Linked DNA regions of Homo sapiens: region 1 is linked to region 2. The links are contacts of gene promoters, found by promoter capture Hi-C in human tissues and cell types (Jung and others, 2019). All regions are on one chromosome and are shown on one strand. The core of a region is centred on a gene start or on the middle of the fragment in contact, and the rest is flanking DNA. Distances in the headings are between cores, read along the strand shown.

Region 1 (7,355 bases), core at 502-3,001, 78 kb after region 2:
TTAGTTAATAATAATGTGGTAATAATGGTTCAACAATTTTAACAAATGTATCACTCTAATGCAAGATTAGTAACAGTGAATCCATGTGGGGCTGGGGTGAGGAAGAAGGGAGTACACAGAACTCTACTTTCTGCTCAATTTTTCTGAAAATCTAGAATTGCTCTTAAAAGAGCTCTTGAGTATGTATCTAGGAGTAGAACTGCTGGATACAGATAATGCAAACCAGTTTTCTATATAGTTATGTAAGAATCTGAGGCTGGACACAGTGCCTCACACCTGTCATTCCAGCACTTTGGAAGGCAGAGGCAGGAGGATCACTTGAGCCCAGAAGTTTGAGATTAGCCTGGGAAACATGGGGAGACCCCAACTCTACAAAAATAGTAAAATATTAGCTGAGCATGGTGGTGTGTGCCTGTTGTCTGAGCTACTTGGGAGGCTGAGGTGAGAGGATCGCCTGAGCTTGAGAGGTCAAGGCTACAATGAGCCATGACCACATCACTACACTCCAGCCTGGGTGACACAGCAAGACCCTGTCTCAAAAAAATTAAATTTAATTTGAAAACTAAAAGAAAGCAATCTGGGTGATAAAGACTCAAAACCCAGGGTTCTTGAACAATAACTAAAGGAAATAGCATATTTAGCTTAGAGAAGACAGGATAAACAAGACAGTGATGTGGAAAATGCTTAGAGAGAACTCTTACTTAGAAAAGGATTAGATTTATTTTGCGTATCTCTAAAAAGCAGAGTGGATACTGTTAACAGAACAGCAGAATCCCCACACTCTGAAAAGTAGGCATACAGAAACTCACGTCAGGAATATTAAAAAGGAATTTATTCTTGCTGTGGGCGAGATGTCAGACCTCCAAGATCCAACATAATATCTAATATATGAAAGATTTTCATGCAGAGCATCCTACAGTGCAAAGCCAAGTTTGGAAACCAATGAGGCAGTCTAACCTCCTAAACTTATAGGTGAGATCCAGGAAATTAAATGACTGTCCAGAGTTACCTACCAAGACAGCGGTAAAGTTAAGGCTAGATCTTCCAGTGCTAGCCCAGTGATCTTTTTATTACACCAGGACATTTCACAAACCCTAGATTGGTGTGGCAAGATTTGTTCTTAGTGACACATGCTTGGTCGTAAACAACCCGTTGTTTCCTCCTCTTTTTCCTTTAAGCTTTCTTTTCAGCATGTTCACTGATCACCTATTTAATAATCTAAAGATATGTCAGGAACCAATATTAAGTTTACCTGAAACAAACTTTCTACCCCATTTTATAAATAAGGGCTTTTCTTATATTCTAGAACCTCTCTCATTTTCCACAATTACTAAAGGACTCCTAGCAGAGATTTGGTGACCAGTTCTGCAAAATTCTTTCAGTATTATCGCATAGCATTTGTCTGGTATGGTCACCAGGATGTTTGAAAACTAGTTAGTTTATTTTTAATCTTCTTAACCATAACAAAGCTTTCATTCTGTTTTAATTTTTAATGATCCTACCTTTCCCAATTTAAATCTTTTTTTTTTTTTTGAATAGTGGGGGGAAAGCTTTCTTTTGCATTTGTTATATTAAAATAAGTGTGCCAAATGAGCATATTATTTTCTTATTCATCTTATTCTAAATATGAGGTTTAAAATGTCTTTCTTAGCTTTAAAAGCCTCAAGCTCGTTGTCAAGATAGTCTTTCTGAGGTTATTACAAATCTATACCACTTTTTTCATTTTCTTTAGTTATCCTAATTTTACTGAACACAAGATAATCTTTCAAATAATCCTTGGCCAGGCACAGTGGCTCATGCCTATAATCCCAGCACTTTGGGAGGTCAAGGTTGGGGAATCACTTGAGTCCAGGAGTTTGAGACCAGACTGGGCAACACAACAAGACCCTATCTATAAAAAAAAAAAATTTTTTTAATTAGCCAGGCAGGGTGGTTCATATGTCTGCGGTCCCAGCTACTTGGGAGGCTGAGGTAGGAGGATTACTTGGGCCCCCAGGGGGATGAGGCTGCAGTGAGCCGTAATCATGACACTACACTCAGCCTGGGCAACACAGTGAGACCCCACCTCAAAAAAAAAAAAAAAAAAAAAGGCCTGGTATGGTGGCTCACGCCTATAATCCCAGCACTTTGGGAGGCTGAGGCAGGCAGATCATGAGGTCAAGAGATTGAGACCATCCTGGCCAACATGGTGAAACCCCGTCTCTACTAAAAATACAAAAAATTAGCCGGGCGTGGTGGCATGCGCCTGTAATCCCAGCTACTCGGGAGGCTGAGGCAGGAGAATCACTTGAACCCGGGAGGCAGAGGTTGCAGTGAGCCAAGATCGCGCCACGGCACTCCAGGCTGGCAACAGAGCAAGACTGCATCTCAAAAAAAAAAGAGGAATCATTGTATCATTATGAAGAACTTCAGAAGGAATACCTGGGTCATGGTGAGTACTCAGTAAATATTGTTATTATAGCAAACCTCTTTTCATGTGAATGAATACAGATCAATATAATCACATTAATAATGGCCCTAAGCACTTAATGGTTATTACCATAATTAGGTTTTTTAATGTCTGGACATTTAAGTGGCTTTCAATTTTTGAATATTATAAACAGTGAAATGAACAAAGTTGATTATTTTAGGATAAAATCTGATCAGAAGAATCTGTGGATCAAAATAATATTAATCAATACAGGCACTGCTCAAATATTTCCAGCTGCATACATTCTGAGTGCATGGTATGATTGTATTCCCTACCCTCTTGTGGCTGGGTGAGGTACGAACAAGACTGTTTCTAGAGACAATAAATTTGATCAGAAATGCTCTTTGTTACTTCTAGGATGGGGCATTTTAATGGCTTGTGAAAGACTCTGCAGAGATTTCTCTCCCTCAGCCATGATGAGTGTGATGTTCCTGGCTGCTCCATCACTGAGCATGGCACAGAATAAGGCCCTCAGCTAACTCACAAGGAACATGTTGCCTGGGCAAGAAAGAAGCCACTGCCACTGTTGTTTTTAAGTCACTGAGTTTTGGGGTTGTCTCTTACATAGTAATAATCCAGACTATTCTGGCTACTATAAATGATATCCACTTTTGAAGATTTTGATACATATTGCTAAACTGCCAGAATGGTTACACATGGCCTTTTAGAATCTCAGATCAATTTCTGGGAAGATGGCAACATAGTCTTTGAATCTCCCCAGATCGTCACATAAAAACAGATGGACCAACTAGACAGCAAAACCAAAAAAATCTAAGGATCCAATTTACCACAGAAAAAGATAAAGTATTCCCACAATCCCAAAACATAATGCGTAGGGACAAACCAGGTTAATAGCCACAAAACCTGCATGATACTAGGGTTGTGCAGGAGGAATCAAAGAATGCAATGGAGTGTCTGATGGACCTAAGAACTCCCAAATTACTCATATATATTCACTGGAAAGCATGGTGTCAATCTGAGAATAAGAGCTAACGCTGGAAGGAGTTTTGCACAATCCAATAATATTAGAACACTCAAAACTGACCAGTCAGGCCTGCTGTCTAGGATAGGTGGTTAGAAAAACTATCCTAAACCAAACCATCAAAAGTTCAGGAAGGGCCAGGCACAGTGGTTCACACCTGTAATCCCAGCACTTTGGGAGGCTGAGACAGGTGGATCGCCTGAGCTCAGGAGCTCGAAACCAGCCTGGGCAACACGGTGAAACCCCGTATCTACCCCAAAATACCAAAAATAATAATAATAATAATTGGGCGTGGTAGTGTGCCCTGTGGTCCTAGCTGCTCAGGAGGCAGAGATGGGAAGATCGCTTTAGCCTGGGAGACGGAGGTTGCAGTGAGCTGAAATCGTGCCACTGCACTCCAACATGGGTGACAGAGTGAGACTCTATCACGAAAAGACAAAAAGTTCAGGAGAAGGTCGGGTGCAGTGGCTCACATCTCAGCACTTTGGGAGGCCAGGATGGGAGGATCACTTGAGCTCAGGAGTTTGAGACCAGCCTGAGCAACATAGCAAGACCCTGTCTCTACAAAAAATATATATTTTTTAATTAGCTAGGCACAGTGGCACATGCCTGTGGTCCCAGCTACTCGGAAGGCTGAGGTAGGAGGATCGCTTGGGCCTTGGAGGTCAAGGCTGCAGTGAGCCATAGTCATGCCACTGCATTCCAGCCTGGGCAACAGAGCAAGATCTTATCTCAAAAAAAAAAAACATTGGGGAAAACTAATTTCACATAAAAATTAGCAACATAAATATATCAAGGTCAAATCCCATACAAAGTTATTTTAAGAAAAAAAGAGAAGGAACAGAATGGCATTTCTACAGACAAGATAGATCAAAACTGTAATTTATTTCAAAACAGGCTATACGATATTAAGAAAATGATACAATACATGAAAGAAAATCTTAAGCTAGGGTGAGAAAAATCAGAAAAGAATTAGAAATAGAAGTAAAAATCATTTTAGAAATAAAGGATAAGCAGAAGGAATACAAGAGCAAAAAACCACACTCAAACAAGACTCAAAAATACTGATATCAAGAAGAAAACCAAAGCAAAGGAATGGAATAAATACTAATTAATAATGGCTGTAATTCAAGAAAACTTTCCTCAAATGAAAAAACTGTTAACAATACCCTATGCCAGAAGACAATGCAGTAATAATAGATTTAAAACACTCAAGAAGGCCGGGCACGATGGATCATATCTGTAATCCCAGCACTTTGGGAGGCCAAGGCAGGCGGATCACAAGGTCAGGAGTTTGAGACCAGCCTGGCCAATATGGTGAAACCCCATCTCTACTAAAAATTTAAAAACTAGCCAGACATGGTGGTGGGCACCTGTAGTCCCAGCTACTTGGGAGGCTGAGGCAGGAGAATCGCTTGAACCTAGGAGGCAGAGGTTGCAGTGAGCCGAGATTATGCCACCGCACTCCAGCCTGGGTGACAGAGCAAGACTCCATCTCAAAAATAATAAATAAATAGAAAATAAATAAAATAACTCAAAAAAATGTAAGCCAAGATTATTCAGAAAAACTAACTTTTAAGTGTAAAGGACACAAAAAAGCCATTACCAATATGCAAAAACTTAGGCCTTATTGTTCCCATGAGCATTTCCTGAGGAATCTATTAGACTCTAGTAACTAGAGAATAAGCTTCAGACAATGAAACAAATAAAGAGACAAAGATATAAGGACTGGTGGTGCACACTATATGAACAGTTATTTATAAAACCAAGACTAAGTGAGGGCGAAAGGAAGCACATAAAGTATATAATTACTATACACTCTGACAATGTACTTACTATGGTACATTTAAGAAATGTGAGTAAAACAAATAGCAAATGCTAAATTTTTTTTAACTAACTTCATAATCATATTGATAGTGGTAATGTTAGTATTGTTATTCTGAGACTATTATGTATATAATGTGGGGTAAAGATATTGAGTAAATTATGGGATATGCTAATTACATCTTCCTTTGACTCTGAAAATCAGTATTCTTGATGCAGAAGAAAGGAGATATACATGTAACATAAGAGGTTAAGTAAAAACTTCTAATTTTCAAATTGAATTGGAAATGACAATATGATTCCTGAAGTATTTTATCTTAAACAATATACACAAATAAAAATAAATTTATTAAATCTATATTTAAAAACTCTCCCCATCTATCCACTGAGCAGCCTAGAAATAATGTCCAACACTGTAGCAATGAGCAATCTTTGCATGCAACTATGGCCTTGAAAGATACGGCTGAGTGCAGGTATGAAGCAGAAACACAAAAGACCCTTAAACATCTTGTCATACCAGTTAGCAAGAAAGCCACCAAAAACTCCTAAGGTCTTTGGCAGTTTATTAAAAACTTAAACATATTTAACATAAGGCAGCAATTCCACTCCCAGGTACATGCTCAAGAGAAAGGAAAATATAGGTCCACACAAAACTGCTACACAAATGTTCACATCAGCATTAGTCACAACAGCAAAAAAGTAGAAACATCCCAAATACCCACCAACTGGTGAATGCATAAACAAGAATGTGGTATAGCCATAAAATGGAATACTATTCATCAATAAAAAACAATGATATACTAATAACAAATGCTACAATATTGATGAATCTCAAATACATTATACTAAGTGAAAGAAACAAAATAGGAAAAGACCACACATTGTATAATTCCATTTATATGAAATGTCCAGAATAGGCAAATTCATAGAAACAGAGATCAGGGGTTGTCAGAGACTGGAAGGAGGGGAAATGGAGAATGACTGCTAATGGTACAGCATTTTTAAAAATTTCTGGAGTAATGAAAATGTTCTGGAATTAGTGGTGATAGTTGTACAACTCTAAATTTACTAAAAATTTTAAGCACACTTAAAATGGGTGAATTTTTATGGCGAATATATATATATATATATATCTCAATACAGCTTAAAAAAAGAAAAATCCTAGGGCCCCCATGTCCTTTCATAAGAGTCAATACAAATGTGGTAGGCAGAATTCTAAGATAGCCCTCAATATTACTATCCCATGGTGTACACATGTGTATAATCCTCTTGAGTGTGGGTGAGTCCAGTGAATATGATAGGATACCACTCCTGTGATCAGGTTACTAATCAGTTGATTTTTTTAGTTAATCAAAAGGGAGGTTATCCTAACTGGAATTGATCAAACCAGGTAAGCTCTTTAAAAGAAGATGAATGTCAGAGTGATGGTCTCCTCCTGGCCTTGAAGACAACGCAAACTGAGAGAAAGGGGCCACTCAGCAAGGATCTGAGGGCAACCTATAGGAACAGACAGCCTACTGCACAAGAAACAAGGGTATCAGTCATAGCACAACAAGGAAATTTCTGCCAAAAACCAGTGAGCCTGGAAGAAAATCCTGAACTTCAGACGAGACTGCAACCTTGGATTGATTTTAACCTGGTAAGTCCCTGAGCATAGGACCCAGCTAACCTCCACCTGGACTTCTAAATCACAAAAATCCTAAGACATAAATTTGTTATTTTAGGTTGCTAAGTTTGTGGTAATTTGTTACAGAGGATTATACAACTAGAGCTTCAATAGGGCAATATTTATAAACATCAAGTATGTTTAAATCATGAGTTTATATAAGTTATTGAGAAATAAAACTAGTAGTTTACACCTTTGGAAGATAAGGAACCAAGTTATTATTTTTTAAAACACGCCAAAGGCCAGGCACGGTGGCTCACGCCTGTAATCCCAGCACTTTGGGAGGCTGAGGCGGGCGGATCACAAGGTTAGGAGTTCGAGACCAGCCTGACCAACATGGTGAAACGCCATCTCTACTAAAAATACAAAAATTAGCTGGGCATGGTGGCACGTGCCTGTAATCCCAGCTACTC
Region 2 (7,887 bases), core at 5,116-7,615:
TGCCTAAATCTAGCCCTTTAAATTTCCCTCCTTTTTTTTTTTAAGACAGAGTCTCACTCTGTCGCCCAGGCTGGAGTGCAGTGATGAGATCTCGGCTCACTGCAGCCTCCACCTCCCAGGTTCAAGCCATCCTCCTGCCTCAGCCTTCTGAGTAGCTAGTATTACAGGCAGGTGCCACCAGGCCCGACTAATTTTTTTTTATTTTTATTTTTAGTAGAGATGGGGTTTCGCCATGTTGGCCAGGCTGTTCTTGAACTCCAGACCTCAAGTGATCCACACGCCTCGGCCTCCCAAAGTGCTGGGATTACAGGCGTGAGCCACCTCACCCAGCCATAAATGTCCATTTTGGTTTAACTGAGTTGTTCTAGTTAAGACAAAGCTGAATTTTTAAAGTCAGCTCAGATTGCTATTGAAAATGAGTGGATGTCACTCATGTAACCAGGAAACGGGGACAGAGGACCATACCCAAAGGAGGGAAGTTATACAAATCACTATGGCTAAAATCAGTCCTCTTGTTGGTAATATGTCACATCAGGGACGGCAGCAAAGCTTCCTCCCTCACACTAATTAACACTAATCAATTGGTGCTGGCAGTCTGGAGCCCGGGCTCACTGGGATGGATTATTGATGGGGGCAGGAGGAGAGACAGGGGCATATGCACCCTGTCCTTTCCAGCCCTGTTTTTATACTGAGCACTCTCCACCCTCCAGGTGACAGGAGGCTCCATCCCAGGCACATTCCCGGTGAAAGGGCATTTTATCCAGGGTGAAGAACACGTGCTACTGTCTACAGAGTGCGTCCACGTACGTCACCTCTTCTCATCGCCACAGCATCCCTTTGAGGCAGCCACGTAAGGCCAAAGTTCTTGTCCCCAGGTGAGAGGTGAGGTGAGAGGGCTGCAGAGCTGTGGCTACGTGGGACTGTAACATAGGCTCTAGATCACTCACCCCCATGGCCTGGCTTTGGCTCACAGCTCTGTCGGGGATGCATAAGCCCGACAGACAAATTATACCAAATGCACAGGGCTCACATTACCTTCGCGCTAGGACAGGGGCCCGGTCATCAGCCAGGCCTCAGAGGCCAGGACCCAGCTCAGTCTCGTGACAACGAACAGACCCAAGACACTGAAATGGTACCATGGCTCCGGGGACTCGGGGGCCAGAGAAAGACCAGAAAATCATCAGACAGCCATTAGCAAAAAAGGACAATTGAGCTTTCAGCATATTTGAGAAACAGGATGGAACCAGGTCAGGCTTCATTAAGGGCTTCCTGTTCCCCCAAGGCTGTTTATGACTAATTGGTTGGCACAGCCACACACAAGCCGAGAAAACTGGATGCAAAGGACGTGACCCAAGTAATTGGGGTTGGGGAAGGGTGGGATGCTGTATGTGGGAACCAAACTTGATTCTTTCCTACCCAAAGGGCTCTCAGACAGTGCCCCTGAACCTACTGATCATTTTTGCTTAGCCTGAGAGTATAAAAAACTCCAGGCATCCACACAATGTTATCCCTGCCATGTAAGTCCTGTTTTTTGAGACCCAGTTGGGGTCATTTGCGACTGGGGTTTAATGGGGTCATTGAGCACTTGGTTTGCTGCTGCTCTTTCAATAAGTTGAGGTTATGACAGAAAGAATGTCAACTCAGCAACAGTTTCCTTTTGATCTTCTGTATCTGCCACAGCACCAGGAACAGTTGTTAGAAGGGAAAAGTGAAACATATGTTGGGACAAAAAGCACCTATTTTCAATCCAAACAAGTCATGTGGGGTATGTGTAACCAGGGACACACGTCCCAGGCACTAAGGGAGAGTACTGGTGCTGCAGAAAACCAAGCCCACTTTTGGAGAGACACACAAACCATCATGGGAGATATCGTCTAAGCAAGAAAGCCAACCAGCAGCCCGTTTCACTTAGAAAGAGCAAATCCAACATTCAAGACTCAAGACTGAATTGCAGAAGGTGGGAGCTGGAGGGGCCTTAGAGCTCGTCTAGTCCAAAGGTCTCACATTAGGAATGAGAGTCATAAAAAATTCCGCTCTTTGACCCAGGGCTTTCATTTCCAGAACCTATTCTCAGGAAATAATCCTGACTATGGAGAACCATAAATCTCTACCAAGGCCGGGCGCAGTGGCTCACGCCTGTAATCCCAGCACTTTGGGAGGCCGAGGCGGGTGGATCACCTGAGGTCAGAGTTCGAGACCAGCCTGGCCAAGCTGGTGAAACCATGTCTCTACTAAAAATACAAAAATTAGCCAGGCGTGGTGGCGGGCGCCTGTAGTCCCAGCTACTTCGGAGGCTGAGGCAGGAGAATGGCATGAACCCAGGAGGCAGAGCTGGCAGTGAGCCGAGATCGCGCCACTGCACTCCAGCCTGGGTGACAGAGCGAGATTCCATCTTAAAAATAATAATAAAAAATAAATAAATAAAAATAAAACTAAAACTCTACCAAGGTTTAACATAACAATACTTTTATTTTATTTATTTTATTTTTGAGACAGGGTCTTGCTCTGTTGCCCAGCCTGGAGTGCAATGGTGCAATCACAGCTCACTGCAACCTCAACCTCCCGGGCTCCAGTGATCCTGCCACCTCAGCCTCCCAAGTACCTGGGACTACAGGCATGTGCCACCATGCCCAGCTAATTTTTGCATTTTTTGTAGAGACAGATCTCTCTATGTTATCCAGGCTGGTCTCGAGCTCCTGGAGGCAAGTGATCATCCCGCCTCAGCCTCCCAAAGTGCTGGGATTACAGGCATGAGCCACTTCATCCAGCCTAATATTTTAATTATTAAAAATGTTTTTGAAAGTATCCAAATGAGGCCAGGCATGGTGGCTCATGCCTGTAATCCCAGCACTTTGGGAGGCCGAGGCGGGCGGATCCCGAGGTCAGGAGTTCGAGACCAGCCTGACCAACACAGCGAAACCCTGTCTCTACTAAAAATACAAAAATTAGCTGGGCGTGGTGGTGCGGCCTGTGATCCCAGCTACTCAGGAGGCTGAGGCAGGAGAATCGCTTGAGCCCTGGAGGCGGAGGTTGCAGTGAGCCAAGATCGCACCACTGCACTCCAGCCTGGGAGACAGAGCAAGACTTCGTCTCAAAAAAAAAAAAAAAAAAAAAAAAATTAGATTGTGGTAATGGTTACACAACTCTGGATATTCGAAAGTATCCAAATGTCCAACAAGAGGAAAAGGTTAACTACATTATGGCATATCCACTTGATTGGATATTAAGAAGACATTGTAATGATAATTATGATGATAATGAAGAAATCTATGTAAGTGGTTACACTGTAACAGTAAGTGAGGGAAGCAGTTCAGAACTGTATGTACCTTATAAACATAACTAAAAACATACAGGATGAAGAAAAACTAGGAAGGCTTCCACCCAGCAAATATGAAAGTGTTTGAGATTAAAAGTAAATTAAAGGTGGAATTACAAGTAACATTTCCACTTTTTTGTAATGTTGACATACAGAGCCATGAAAAATACACACTGAAAACCTCCCAGTTCTCCTGTGGATGAACAATCTGCAGGTCAGTGACCAGGTCTGGCCTGGTGCTATCAATAGGTCAAATAATGTCAATATATTGAATTGGAAAAGAATCTGTCAGAGTGGTTTCTATTTTCGTTTTTTTCATTTTGTTTTATTTTTGTTTCCATGCTGGTATGGGAAGATTTTTAGAAATTGTTCCAGGGTCTCAGTAGTAACCCTTGCAGGCACCGCTGGCCCAGGATCTGGACAATTCTAGAGGCAGGAAGCACAGAGACGAAGAAGGGGACTCACTGCCTGACCGCAGAGAAACGAGCTGTGCCTTTTGACCAGGTGTGTTTCCACCACGTGTTGGGAGGAGTGTTCTCAGAACCATGACTCAGCCCAGCAGCCATAAACCAGTCTCCCACACTACCCCAGAGACTTCCTGGGGCACTTGCTTAAGGTGGCTATAAAAGTGCTTCCAACTTTCTCGCCTCCCACAGGGAGAGGGAGGTCAGCTCCCGGCATTGAAAAAGGCTGACTGTCCTTCCAGAAGGACCTGGAGCCCATCAGCAGAGGCTGCATTTCCCATCACAGGGTGCTCCTGAGCCTGCACCAGGGCTGTTGGACAAACATGTCCCGCATGATCCTAGGGTACAAAAGGTTAACCAACACAAAGGAGCCCAAGGAAATGAAATAAGTTTGCAGAATCAAAGGTTTCAGGGTTCCAAAGGCTCCCCCTTGGGGGTGGGAGAGACATGGTGCAACTTGTGCCTTTACTAAGCAGATAACAAAAGAAAGTGGATTCCTAGGCAGCGCCTCCTTAAGTAGCCAGTAGAGGGCTCTGAATCTAATCAACAAGTGATTGCTTTATAATGTTTTTAAATTTGCTACAACCTCTAACTCAACTCTCTAAATGAATAGAATTTAGTGGGAGTTTATCCCACCAAGTACCTGAGGGCTGTAAGGGGCCACACTTCCTCTCTCTCTTTCTTTGTTTTGTTTTGAGACGGAGTCTCATTCTGTTGCCCAGGCTGGAGTACAATGGCATGATCTCGGCTCACTGTAACCTCTGCTGCCCGGGTTCAAGGGATTCTCCTGCCTCAGCCTTCTGAGTAGTTGGGATTACAGGCGCACTCCACCACGCCCAGCTAATTTTTAAATTTTTAGTAGAGACGGGGTTTCACCATGTTGGCCAGGGTGGTCTCAACCTCCTGACCTCAGGTGATCCACCCACCTTGGCCTCCCAAAGTGCTGGGATTATAGGTATGAGCCACCATCCTTGGCCTTTTTTTTTCTTTTCTTTCCTTTTTTTTTCAGACAGGGTCTCACTCTGTCACCCAGGCTGGAGTGCAGTAGCGCAGTCTCCCGGGCTCAAGCCATCCTGCCACCGCAGCCTCCCGAGTAGTTGGGACTGTAGGCACACACCACCATGACCGGCTAATTTTTACATGTTTTGTAGAGATGGGGTTGCTCCATGTTGCCCAGGCTGGTCTCAAACTCCTGACCTCAAGTTTGAGATGAGATCTGCTCATCTCAGCCTCCCAGTGTATGCAGATTACAGCCGTGAGCCACGGTGCCTGGCCTCCTTATTCATTTTGTAAAGCAGGAGGGAGTCATGGCACAGCAGAAAGCATTGAAGGAAGAGTCAGCCAACTTGGATTTAATCCTCATTCCATCCTAAATACTTGGTGACCTTGGCTAAGTCCTCCTGCTAGGAGGACTTCTGTCATCTGCACTTTGAGAGATGCTTTTTGCCCAGGGCCGTGACAGCCAGCCGGTGTGGCCAGAGTAGCAGACTGGGCTCATTTTAGCTGCCTGGAAAGAACCCTGGTTCCCTCCTGTTGACCCTTGGCAACCTTTAACCAGCCCACTTTGGAATGAATTTTGTAGACAAGTTCCCTGAGCAAAGTGACAAAATAATGCACACCATGAATAGTGTACCATTGGCAAATAGCAGGTGCCAATAATAGATATTTCAATTACTGTCTATTGCAACTCACACCTTCTTGCTGCCCACATTTATATGCTTTCAAATACATGAACAAACAGATCTGCCCCAACAGTTCTTTTTTTTTAGATGAAGTCTCACTCTTGTCCCCTAGGCTGGAGTGCAATGGCGCGATCTCGGCTCACTGCAACCTCCACCACCTGGGTTCAAGCGATTCTCCTGCCTCAGCCTCCCGAGTAGATGGGATTACAGGTGCCCGCCACCACACCCAGCTAATTTTTGTATTTTTAGTTGAGACGGGGTTTCACCATGTTGGCCAGGCTGGTCTCGAACTCCTGACCTCAGGTAATCCGCCCACCTCGGCCTCCTAAAGTGCTAGGATTACAGGCGTGAGCCACTGCGCCCAGCCTTCTGCTCCAACAGTTCTTAAAACTTCTTTGAAAATGATTCTCCTCGCCTTTGTGGCCTTTCCGAGCAAACATCCCTTACAGCAAACACAATCCTCTTCAAGCTTTCCAAACACCCTCCTCACCCGCTTCCGCATCCAATACCTGCCAGGAAGTTCCGAGTGAAGTGTAAGGTTCAGGACAGTAATGCAATGCCCAGGAGTGTGGGAGAATTACTCCCTCTTCCCTCAGTGAGTCTTTTACTGGTCATATGCTCCCAGTATCTTTTCTAATAAGCTCTCTTCACTCCCTTCTGATTTTTTTTTTAAGGGAATCAGTTTTGTCCGTGAAGAAGGAGCTGGGCATCTCTCAGCTTCGTGGGTCCTCCTTACCTTCTTGATCTGGTCCTCCTTCAGCTTGCTGAAGTAAAATGCCATCAAGTGGACCGCAAACATTTTCCCCAAGTTTGGTTTCTCCTGAGATGGGCAGAGATTCCTGTGCAGTGTTCACTCCTACGACTCTGGAGTGTTGCACGCTTCCAGTCCAGGCTGGCAGACCTCCTGGGGAGCGAGGTGTTGCGGACTAAATACCTCCAGCCTGCTTGGTTCAATGATTAAACTCCCCCCCACCCCACCCCTTTGGTCCCTCCCTCTGGCACACACTTGATTGTCTAATAGGAGGCTCTGGATGGTAGCTGAGGTTTAGTGGAGGGGGAAGCAGGGTATTGATGGGTTGCTTGACTACTTGAGAATTGGGTGCCACCAAATCTCATTGCTAAGCAACCCTCTCAAGCCGGGGCTCTGCCAAGCCCACTCAGCCGAGGAAAATCTTCTGCGAAGTTGGGCACTAAACAAAGCCAACTTTCAACCGGTGGAGCTGCTCTGCAAATTTCCAGTCCCAGGCTTTTCTCTTTAGTTTTTTATGCCAGTGGCATAACTCTGTGACCCCCTGCTCCTCAGAAGCACTGAACTAACTAAAACTAAACATTGTCCTGGTCAATGGGATTTCAAGAATGTTGGGGCAGATTCTTCCATTTGTGACAGATCAGATCTCTTAACTAATAGCCCATGGTTAACAGAAAATGATCAATAAATGTTTACCTATTCACAGTGTTAAGCCAGAAAATCTTTAGTTCACAGGTAGTGACCCAGGAAAAAATATTCCTGAGAAAGAGTGAACTGAAGTCACCAGTGCTCACTGGGAATCACTGCTGGAGAGAAGGAAGTCACAGATAAGAAATGTCTCAGTCCAGCCGGGTGCAGTGACTCACGCCTGTAACAATCGCAGCACTTGGGGAGGCCGAGGCAGGCAGATCATGAGGTCAGGAGTTCGAGACCAGCCTGGCCAACATGGTGAAACCCCATCTCTACTAAAAATACAAAAAACTTAGCCAGGAGTGGTGGCAGGTGCCTGTAATCCCAGCTACTTGGGAGGCTGAGGCAGGAGAATCACTTGAACCTGGGAGGCAGAGGTTGCAGTGAGCCGAGATCGCGCCATTGCACTCCAGCCTGGGTGACAAGAGCAAAACTCCATCTCAAAAAAAGAAAAAAAAGAGAAATGTCTCAGGCCACTGAGATGTTTTATTCACTCACTTCTCACTCATCATACTTGACATGAGAAGGACCCAGAAAGCACCCAATACATGGGTACAATCAACCTTGCACTCTTCCCACAGTCACTGGCTGGCTAATGAAACCAATAACAACAGCGTTAACAACAGCGGCTAACATGGATGGAGCATTTACCAATCCCATTTTGTTTTTATTACTCTTGTTATTATTATTTTTTAGACAGGGTCTCATTCATCCCCCAGGCTGGAATGCAGTCGTGGAATCATGACTCGCTGCAACATCAGCCTTCTGGGCTCAGGTGATCCTCCCATCTCAATCCCCAGGGTAGCTGGGGCTACAGGCACGTGGCACCATGCCCAGCTAATTTTTGTATTTTTGTAGAGATAGGGTTTTGCCATGTTGCCCTGGCTGGTCTTGAATTCCTGGGCTCAAGCGATTTACCCACCTCAGCCTCCCAAAGTGTTGGAATTACAGGCATGAGCCACTGCTCCCGGCCCACTCTTATTTTAT

Evidence for each region. Contacts are between HindIII fragments. The study calls those that stand out against the background at their distance.
Region 1: a contact is called between a fragment that was not itself captured here and the fragment with the promoter of HKDC1 in region 2, in 2 of the 25 tissues and cell types used here (IMR-90 fibroblasts and aorta).

What each region holds. Positions count from the first base shown.
Region 1 is chr10:69,136,917-69,144,271 of GRCh38, reverse strand. All of the region lies in intron 2 of VPS26A (VPS26 retromer complex component A), which reads right to left. Among named protein-coding and RNA genes, the nearest start is that of VPS26A, 16 kb to the right of the region's middle. The HindIII fragment of the contact is 3,189 bases long and covers 157-3,345 here.
Region 2 is chr10:69,218,810-69,226,696 of GRCh38, reverse strand. It overlaps HKDC1 (hexokinase domain containing 1), which reads right to left and starts at 6,365. Exons shown (of 18, transcript NM_025130.4): 1 at 6,199-6,365. The coding sequence starts at 6,261. It overlaps LOC101928994 (a long non-coding RNA gene), which reads left to right. Exons shown (of 5, transcript NR_120648.1): 2 at 711-875; 3 at 3,472-3,530; 4 at 3,672-3,820. RefSeq lists a cis regulatory region at 2,194 and an enhancer at 2,110-2,279. The HindIII fragment of the contact is 7,476 bases long and covers 3,241-7,887 here.